Regions from separate parts of the Homo sapiens genome. Here region 1 is linked to region 2. Evidence: promoter capture Hi-C in 16 types of primary human blood cells and fetal thymus (Javierre and others, 2016). All regions are on one chromosome and are shown on one strand. The core of a region is centred on a gene start or on the middle of the fragment in contact, and the rest is flanking DNA. Distances in the headings are between cores, read along the strand shown. Region 1 overlaps HOXB3 (homeobox B3). Region 2 holds the start of SKAP1-AS2 (SKAP1 antisense RNA 2).

What was found. The method cuts DNA at HindIII sites, captures the fragments that hold promoters and counts their contacts. A CHiCAGO score of 5 or more calls a contact.
Region 1: a fragment that was not itself captured here is called in contact with the fragment with the promoter of SKAP1-AS2 in region 2 in 1 of 17 cell types (total B cells); the score reaches 5.1 in total B cells.

The regions. Positions count from the first base shown.
Region 1 is chr17:48,562,771-48,567,267 of GRCh38, reverse strand. All of the region lies in intron 2 of HOXB3 (homeobox B3), which reads left to right. Among named protein-coding and RNA genes, the nearest start is that of HOXB-AS2, 8.9 kb to the right of the region's middle. RefSeq lists an enhancer at 2,111-2,915. The HindIII fragment of the contact is 5,439 bases long and covers 1-4,497 here.
Region 2 is chr17:48,293,036-48,297,694 of GRCh38, reverse strand. It overlaps SKAP1-AS2 (SKAP1 antisense RNA 2), which reads right to left and starts at 3,348. Exons shown (of 2, transcript NR_131240.1): 1 at 3,180-3,348. All of the region lies in intron 4 of SKAP1 (src kinase associated phosphoprotein 1), which reads left to right. The HindIII fragment of the contact is 1,397 bases long and covers 2,171-3,567 here.

The sequences.
Region 1 (4,497 bases), core at 841-3,340, 270 kb before region 2:
TTAGGCCCCAGTCCCTGCAGCATCCAGGAGCTCGCTCCCACACTCTGCTCCAAGTGAACACTGAGTCTCATCCATGTTAACAAGGGATTCTCAGTGGGTAGTGGGTGAAGCCTCCCAATTCAGGAGTCTCAGTTGAAAAGGGTTTGGGGAGAAAGAGAAGGCCAGGACCCAAGGCTGGGATGGGTAGAGGCACTGTCTGACCTGGATAAAAAGAACTAGGGAAAAGTCTGGATACAGGGGCAGCTTTGACAGCACTGGAGATTGTGAGGAGGTGGGAAGGGCTGGCAGAGGCAGCAAAGAGACCTGGGGCATAGGGGCTCCAAACCTTTCAGTCTCATTCCCCACCCACTCCTTGAGTGTTGGAGAATCCCACACACATTCAGTGTGAGAGGCAAGCAGTTCTACTTCTCCCTCATCTGGAAAGTGTTGGGGGGTATGACTGTGAAGAGGGTGCGTTCTCCCTCAAACCGGTGGTCCAGAGTTAGGGCAAAGTCTTGGAGTTTTTGAGAGAGCAGGGAAGGATCACTTCTTCCATGGGGAGGAGGAGGGACATGACAGAGAAGGAAGAGGGTAGAATCATTTGTATTAGCTTCTGAATTCAGCATGCTTTGAAAGATGGGAAAGAAAAGGATCTGCTCTTTGGGCCAGCCCATAGCTAGCATGGAGAGCCAGTCCCACAGGCCCCTTCCCCCTGCGTTTGCAACTCCTCCTCCCCAACCCTTTTCCATCTCCCCTCCTGCTGCTACCTTTGCCTGTGACGTGGAAGTCTGACCAACCACCCCCACCCCCACTCCACCAGCTTTTCCTCTTTATTCTTTCAGCCCTCTTCAGGTCTTTGTCTCCTCTGGCCCAGAGGAGAGGAGGTGACACTGATACCCCCTCCCCTTCCCTTTCCCCAACACGCACAGACTCTTCCCCAGGAGACAAAGCAAGGGGACCATCCCTTGCCACCATTATCTGGTAAATCCCCCATGTGATGCCTAATGCCTTCCATCCAGGCATCTAGGCCTACCCCAAATCAGCAAGTTTGAAAGGACTTTGTTGTTTATATATACATTTGCTTCATTTAGCTATGAAGCACCCTGTCTCTTACCAGTCCTGCACCCTCCACCCCACTGATTTGCTTTTGTGTTGTTCAGGGGTTGGGATAGAATGCATCTGGTAGACAGAGCTCTAAGAAAGCTGCTGACTCTGTCTTCTCCCCTAACTCTCTGCTGGTATCCTCTCTATATAATTGCAGTGTTTATCTCTGTGCCTTTAAGGAGGCAGGCTGCTAACGCTTTAGTGACCAGAGGAATTGGATAGAAAGATGAAGAGTGAGATGAGGAAGAGAGGGACCCAGAGAGAGAACAAGCAGCAGGATCCCTTTCTGGGATGGGAAGTCAAGGCTGAGCCCAAGGAGGTGATGACAGGGAGAGTGGAAACAAAGGCCAGTCAGAGGGGAAGGGAGGCTGTCCTGGAGGAAGGAGCCCCACAATTCACAAGGGGACACACACACAGAGTTAAGTGAGAACAAGGGCAGTGGGAAGGAAACTACCCCTTTTGTCCCCTTCTCTCTAGAAGAGAATTTCTCTGGATAGAGGGTGGGTTCCCCCACAGAGGAAAGGGAAGAAGAGACTCAACCTAATGGGTGAGCCCAGAAGTGATTTCTGGAGACACTCCTAAATCCTTTGCAAGGCTCAATTCAAATTCACTGAAGACACTGAGAGACGCAGAATTGGAAAAAGACAAAGGGGCTGTGAGAAAGGAACGGAGACAACAGAGATGGTTAGAAAAGACAGAGAGACCCAACACAGAAAAAAAGCCCAAACCCTTTGGGGAGCAGGCACAGAGGGAAGCCCCTCCAGGCTCCCTGCTCCCTAGCAGCCTTCTTTACAGGAAGCTGCCCAAAGCCCAGGCCATCTCAGAAACAACTGCCTCTAGAGTAGGCCCTTGGGGGTGCTAAATCAGGTGTGAGGCAGCTGTGGCAGGAGCTGAAGTGCCAGGGAATGGCCAAGATGTCCAGGACACTTCAGCCTCCACCACAATCACCAGCATCAGTAACTTAATCATTGGGACCTCCCCAAACAGAATTTCATCATGGGGGTGGGGGGAGTTGGGACTTTCACACCTGGACCCTGGAATCCTTTCTTGGCTTTTCTTCCCCCTTGTGGGTTTGGTCTCTTTTTTTCTCTAGGGACCTGGGGAAGTTGTTGATCTTCCAGCCGCCTAAGAACTTTCACCTCCATTCCACATCTCCTCCCTCAAACTCCCAGCCTTAACAAGCGGATGCTTCCCCTACTAATCTCCTTCCTCCCCCATCTTACAGGAAAGAACAAGAAAAGGAAAAAGAGAAAGCAAGTTCCTACCAGCCTAAGCAGCTTTAGAAAACTCGAGGGAAAAGGGGAGATGCAAATCTTTCTCGCCCGTCTGATCCTTCCTATTGCCCCCTCGCCATTGCTCTGTTCCCTCCATTGCCGCCCTCCCTGTCCCCACTCCTGTCCTGCCCAGAACTCTCTCCCTTCCCCTCCCTTCTCTGCCGGGTCGGACATATGGAACCCATTTCGCTGGTGACATTGAAGAGTCGCCGGTGTGCCCGCCTTCCGCCATGGCGCCCCCGGCGCTCCCTACGCCTCGCCGTGCCCCTGTCAGTTGCCGCTCCTCTCGCCTGGCAACTTGGCCCGCTCTCAAAGCCCGAGTTCAGCTCGGTGCCAGACGAGCCCGGGGTTCCCGCAGCCCTGCGCGGCCCGGACGGAGTGGGAGCTTCTCAGGAAACTGGCGTCTGCCGCGCCCGGAGTGCCAGATCCGCGCGCTCCTGGGGCCCTGGAGGCCGAACAAAGCCGGGGGCGGGGGCGGGGGCGGGGTGGGGGCGAGCGCATCCGGGCCTCTCCCCCAGCTCGGCGGGACGCTCGGGGGTTGCTGGGGGTTGCTGCGGGTTGAGCGACTAGGATGCGGCTGGCTGCGGCGGCGGAGCCCCAGCCTGGGCCGAGGGTCCGGGGCCTGGCAGTCGGCCCCCGCGCGCACCCAGCGCCCGGCCGCCCGCCGTTGCCCGCGCCCTAGCGGAAGACCGCACAGGTAAGTGTGGGGTGCGGAGCCGGGGCGCTCGGGGCCTGGCGGGGGTGCAGAGGTGGGTGGCTGAGACCCCCGCCCCCAGGCCTCTCTCCTGGGACAGGCCGGGATCCGAATTGAAGACGAAGATGAGAGCAACTTTGAAAGGCAGGGTGGGGGCTTCAAGGGGGTAAAGGGACCTGGGGGTGGAGGACGAGTGTGGAGGAATGTGGAGCTGTTTGGGTGGGCGTGTGGACATGATCTTGTTAGGGGATGGGAGAGCCCTCCCGCTCAGAAAGGGCGTTGAGGCCCAGGAGGGTTTTCCAGGGCAGTTGGGGGCTGTGGGTACTGAGGGAAATGTGAGGGGCATCTGTTAGGGGCAGTGGGGTTGGGGGGCGACCGCTGGGTCAGCTTCCACAACCCAGCTGCCACCATTGCCCAACCCTTTAGCACCTAGCGGGTTATTTGAAGGCAAAACTACAAGGGATTGCACTGAGGCTGAGTGTTAAGCCCAGAAGGTAGGAAAGGGGGTGATTTATGGCTTCAGAGAAGCTGTGTTTACTCCTGCCTGCTCTGGAAACCAAAAACCAAACAGAGCAGAGGCCAGAGAAGCCCCTCTCCTTGGAGTGGGAAGCGATGCCAGCCTGACGCACTGGGATTTATTTTCCCAGATGAGGGAGAATAGTGGGAACTGTCCCTTTGCAGGCGCACAGTGTGGTGGGTGTATGCAAAGGGAGCATGTAAGCAGGCACATGTGTAGGTATGTTTGTGTATTGTGTGAGTGCATCTGCACATCGGGAGCTGTATGTACTCCAGGTGGGGCTTTGCGGATGGGTTTGCAGAATCACTTTGTGAGCTGGGAGATTGGGAGTCAGGAGAGAGACCCCATGTTCTCTGGTTCTGGAACTCTGGGATGAGGTAGCTCTAGACACACTGCCCCTTGTCCTGTCCACGAAGTAGTGCTCTTTCCTGCTTTTTTCTTCCCGCAGCCACATGCAGCAGAGCCCACTTGGCCTGGCCTCCTGGCCCCTGCCCCTCTACCCTTTCCCTGTGTGCCTCCTGTGCCTTCTGCCCACCCAGCCTCATCTTCACTTTGAATTTTTAACTTTGTGGTGGGAAGCCAAGGAATTAGTGAGTATGGTTGGTTGAGGAGGGGAGGCCAAAAGGAGAAAAGGCTTGGTGTGGTAGGGAAGATCGGGGAGATCCGTGGTTTGAGGCTGGACCTTGGCAGCCTTGTGTCCCACCATTACTGCTCGAATTCCCCCAAAATCTCTGTTTGGGAGTGGGGAGCAAGTGAATAATACAAAGACGAGCAGAGTAAGGGAGCCATGCAGGAGGATGGCGGTGGGGAGAAAAACATTTTGACCCCCAGATAGTAATTTCCGCAGGCCAACTAGTGGCTCTTGCATTTCTGTCCAGACACCCAGCTTTGCCTGGAAATTGTTTTGCATTAAATTTTCTCAGCCGCAG
Region 2 (4,659 bases), core at 2,099-4,598:
CAAGGCATTGGCTTGGTTTTGACTTTAGTTTCTCATGGCAGCATGGCTTTTTTTCTTTTGAATCGTGCCTGAACTGAACCATATATATTTTTAATCATTGATGAGACTCTACTTTTAATTGGTTAATACCCTAAAAGGGTGGTAGGTCTGATTTAAAAGTTAAAGCAAGGGAATAAAAGTGAACACTTGTTTTAGAAGTTTTGTACTATCTATGATCTTGTTTTGCCCCATTCCTAACTAAGAATGATAATAGCTGTAACTATTTATAAGGTTATAAGGTCATTTATATTGTTCTTCAAGATCTGCTGGTGAAAGGCACTATATAAATAAATCTCAATGTTAGTAAATGTATATATTTACCCGTATCTACAAAACTTGTTGTACACAGGACTGATTCATTTATTTATATGTACTTAGTTTGTTACTTTTAGCAAAATTTGTGTCATGATAAATAGTTTAAAATAACCATGTTAACCAGGGATTAGAGAGACTGATTTATAGACTTAGAGTAGGTGAAAGAGTAAAATAAAACCACCATCTATTTAGGTCATGGAATCAAGTAAGTTTAGAAGTTCTTAAGTGAAATGTTTTTAGTCAGTCAACAACAGGGTAAGGCCTACCAAAAGGAGTGTCTATAAGGAAGTAACACAAGGATTTTTTTTAAATCTAGAAATATGTGAGTTAGGAAAATTAATGTCTAACTCCTTAGACAGAGAATGCTCCTTTCAAGTTTGATAAAGGTCATTTTCAGGACAGTCTAAGAGAGGTTACAGTTCAACTTCCACCAGCAGGCCTTCAGAAAAGGAAAAATGGCTTCAGTTTCTGAAGCTGTAGTGCTTTTTTTTTTCCTAATTAAAGATGATAAAATGCAAATGATTACCTGTATTCTGAATATTTTATAATAATATTTTCTATTTTTCTCTGAAAAAATGAGGAAGTTATCACTTTTTCCCAAGACTGGAATGGAGAGAATACCAGCCAACCATGATGCAGTGAATGTGTGCCAGTGTCTACTCCCAGCTGCTCACGTAAATCTTTCCTCACAGCAGGATTTGAACAAAAACTTACCACTTAACTGAATAGTTCAAATGCTACTGAGTAGGAAATTTTAGTTAGACCAGAATATTTGCAAACTTAAAGTAGATACATGTATTCTGGCAGCATATATGGTATTTTGAAACATCAAAACAATTTTAAAGAAATCTATGCTCTTATGCCAGTCGTGGGTATTACTTGTTTTAGGACTTTGAAAGTATTTCTTTTATACTATAGCTGTTTTTTTAAACAACAACAACCACCTTGCTTCATTTTCCTTTTTATTTTTGAGCTGTTTGCAACCTATTTTCCAATAGTGAGAAACAATGCAATTAATTTTCTCCAGCGCAGTCATGCATAGATTTAATAAGCATCCGAAGGTAGGATCCATCTGTAAAGTATGCATTGCATGCTAAATTACTTCTCTTCTGTGGTTTTTTTTTCTTTCCAAACCTTAATTAATTGAAGAAAAAAATGTTTATTAAAGTGGGAACAGGCTGGGCTCTGGCTCTCCATCTCTGGTTCAAAAGTTCATACAATTCCCTGAAGGCTCATCTGAATGTGTGTGTCTCCCTCTCACAATCTTTCTTTCTCTGTCTCTATAGTAGGGATAAATGCCTAGAAAAGGTGTATTGTTTTGTTCCCAGGATCAATTTTAATAATCTTGAGTAAACTAAGTTTTTCTATATACAGATTTGCATATATCGTATGTGTATATGCATATATGTTTTGCATATATTATATGTTTACATAAATAGTATATACACATAGACACATAAATGTGTTATGTACTCATTTTCCTAATGCTTAGAATTTTAAAAAATTGGTATATCACTCTCGGTGATATCTTTAAACAGGATGTAGATGGAGACCGGAAGTATAATTCTACAGGTGGATCTCAGACAGGAAATTAAAGGAATTACGTATGAAAAGAAGCTAGATCCTTATGGATAAATTTGTGCCAGACACAAAAATATTAAATATATCCAAATAGAGCAATGTTTACCCATAAACAGCGAAAATGGAAAAAAAAAAAAAAGAGGAAGTGACTCACTGCTATGAGAGGCTTTGGAAACTGAAGACATTTCCTGATCTGCAGCAAGCTTTCTGTGACCTAGGTGAAAAACGGCAAGCTTATTGTAAAAGAAAAAAAGTATCTTTAAAGATGGACTCAGAATTTTTTGAATCCTTTCAATTGCTTGCCTAGGATGTCATGACCTTCCTTTTCTTTTTTCAAAGTATGACTTTTTTCTCCTTATCATATGCTACAATTTTTAGGTCCCTGCTTTAAAAAGAAAGGAAATACAAGTTGTAGTTTATGTTCAAATTACTAGTTTCTCTTTTTAGTTTAAAGTACAATAAGTCTTCTTCCTTAACACAAGTAAGGTTTGCACTGTCACTTCCAGATTTAGACGTCTATGGAATCAGAAAGCAGTGCTGAACTTGACTGTGATCTTGCCCGATTGAAGTCAACTTCCTTTGCCCAGTTGCTTCGTGCAAAACATAGTGATCATATAAGAGTCTAGCAGAGGGCTTTCTACAGGTTGTTTCATTCTCTGTTTTAGACTTTTGTGCCTAAAACTACTGGTCTGTTAGTCATTTAAATTTTTACAAATAGCCATTTAAGTTGGGAAAAAATAAGCAGTACCAAAAGCTATTTTACTTTGGCATAGATGCAGCCTTTGTCATGCTGGCTCTTTTTGTCACATAGGTGTACCATCATATACCCTTACCATGTGTCAGATGAGCCATGGGGACATTCCTGGAAAGAACTTTAAGGAATCAACATTCCATATTTTCCTCTCAAAGTAACTGTTGCTACTATATATTGACATGTCCAGATTTAGGCCACTTTTGAAAACTTGTGAGTCAAATCACATGGAGGTGATGCTGAAGTATCATCACCACGTAACAGCCATAATTGATGTCTTGGGAACTTGAAGACTATACTATATAGGTCATGTACTATGTAGGGCATCTATTTATGTGTATAACATGTCATAATTTCCCCACACCCAAATTTCTGTGACTTTTGGAGGAATCTTGATAATTGCTTTCTACACAGATTTTGGTTTAGACTTCTGCGAAAACCCTGAATTGAATAGCTGTGGGTTTCACAAATTACATGCATGTAAACAACATACCTTTGAAAGGAGGATGTGTGGACCCTTTCTCCTATATGCTTATGTCTCTGTTGTCGTAGATTGGCGTCCTTTGTGAGCTATTCAGTGACATTTCAGAACCATTTTGCTCTGCAGAAAACCCGCAGTTGTGTTTCTTTAGCTGACACTGTGGCACTTGCACTCGAAATTGCTAGTTAGAAAAAAAAATTGTTGAGGCCGGTGGCTGTAATCAGCGTTGTTGCTGTCTGTTTCCTCAGACTAATAGCAGAGAGATCCGAGTCTGAGAGTTCAAACAGAGGTTATCTTTCCCAGGTAGCATCTCGTCCAACGAGAATTTGATTTTTTTCTATAGGACTTTACTCCATTAGATTAATGAAATTTCAATGAGAGCCTGGCGCCCCCTGAAGCTTTGTTAAGAAAACAAATGGTGATTCTGTAGGTGTGACAGCTTGCTTGGAGAGTTACCAGAAGGTGAATACATCCCCACAATCCAGGCAGCCTGGAACACATTGATCTCTATTTAAAGCACCAATCGGATTTTTGTTAATTATAAATGATTGATCTGCAGTTTTTTCCTCTCTCTCCTCTTATATGTGTGGTTCCCCCTCCTTCCCGCACTTCTAACTTCTTTGCATGCTGAGCGCAGAGCTTTTTGTTTAAAGGAACAATCATAGAGAGCAAATTATAGCAATACCCGGCAGCAATGCTGCTGTGAATGTCAATGTCAGAGCGTTCACTGTTCATCCGACAAAGGTGAGCCCTGAAGTAGATTTCAGTCTGACTCCATGTTCCCTCTTTACTTAGCTTATTCCTAAAATAAGGGATGATTTTAACAAAAAGAAAAGCATAGAATCACTAGAATAGTATTATAGATGCTATCATTATTACGTTTTAAAAGCTGACTTGTAAGCCTTGTACACCAATTCCACAGTGCTAACTCAGAACCTCGTATGTACCAGGATATGATGTGTGATCAAGCAAGCCCGTGTGGGACAACTAGGGAAATATCTAAGGGATATCCAAGGAATATCTTAAGTAAACTAAGGGAATATCTCTGACCTTAAATCTCAATTTATAGGCATTTAGGTGATTAATACACCTTTTATCATCTCTGTGGAGTAGTTTTAAAATAATGTTTAGAAGGCTTACTGAATTCAAAAACAGACACATGTATTATTCCTGATAATTGCTCACCACACATAGTTCTGAAGACCACAGAAGAACATTCCAAGCTTCTTTGTGGATCTATTTTAGTGAAAGTATCTGAGCTTTAAATGTATTTATTTATTGAATATAAAAGTACGTAATTCCTTCTAGTTATTTATAACATATACAATACATAAAGAAGTTAATTTATGCAGCTCTTGGAAAACATATTTGTAAAAATTACAGCTTAAGGATTACAGATATTAATATATTATATTGAAAACTACATAGATTTCACAATCTAACTCAAATGTAGATTTTTTATGAATGTGTCTTTCTTAAGTTTGAGCCTTTA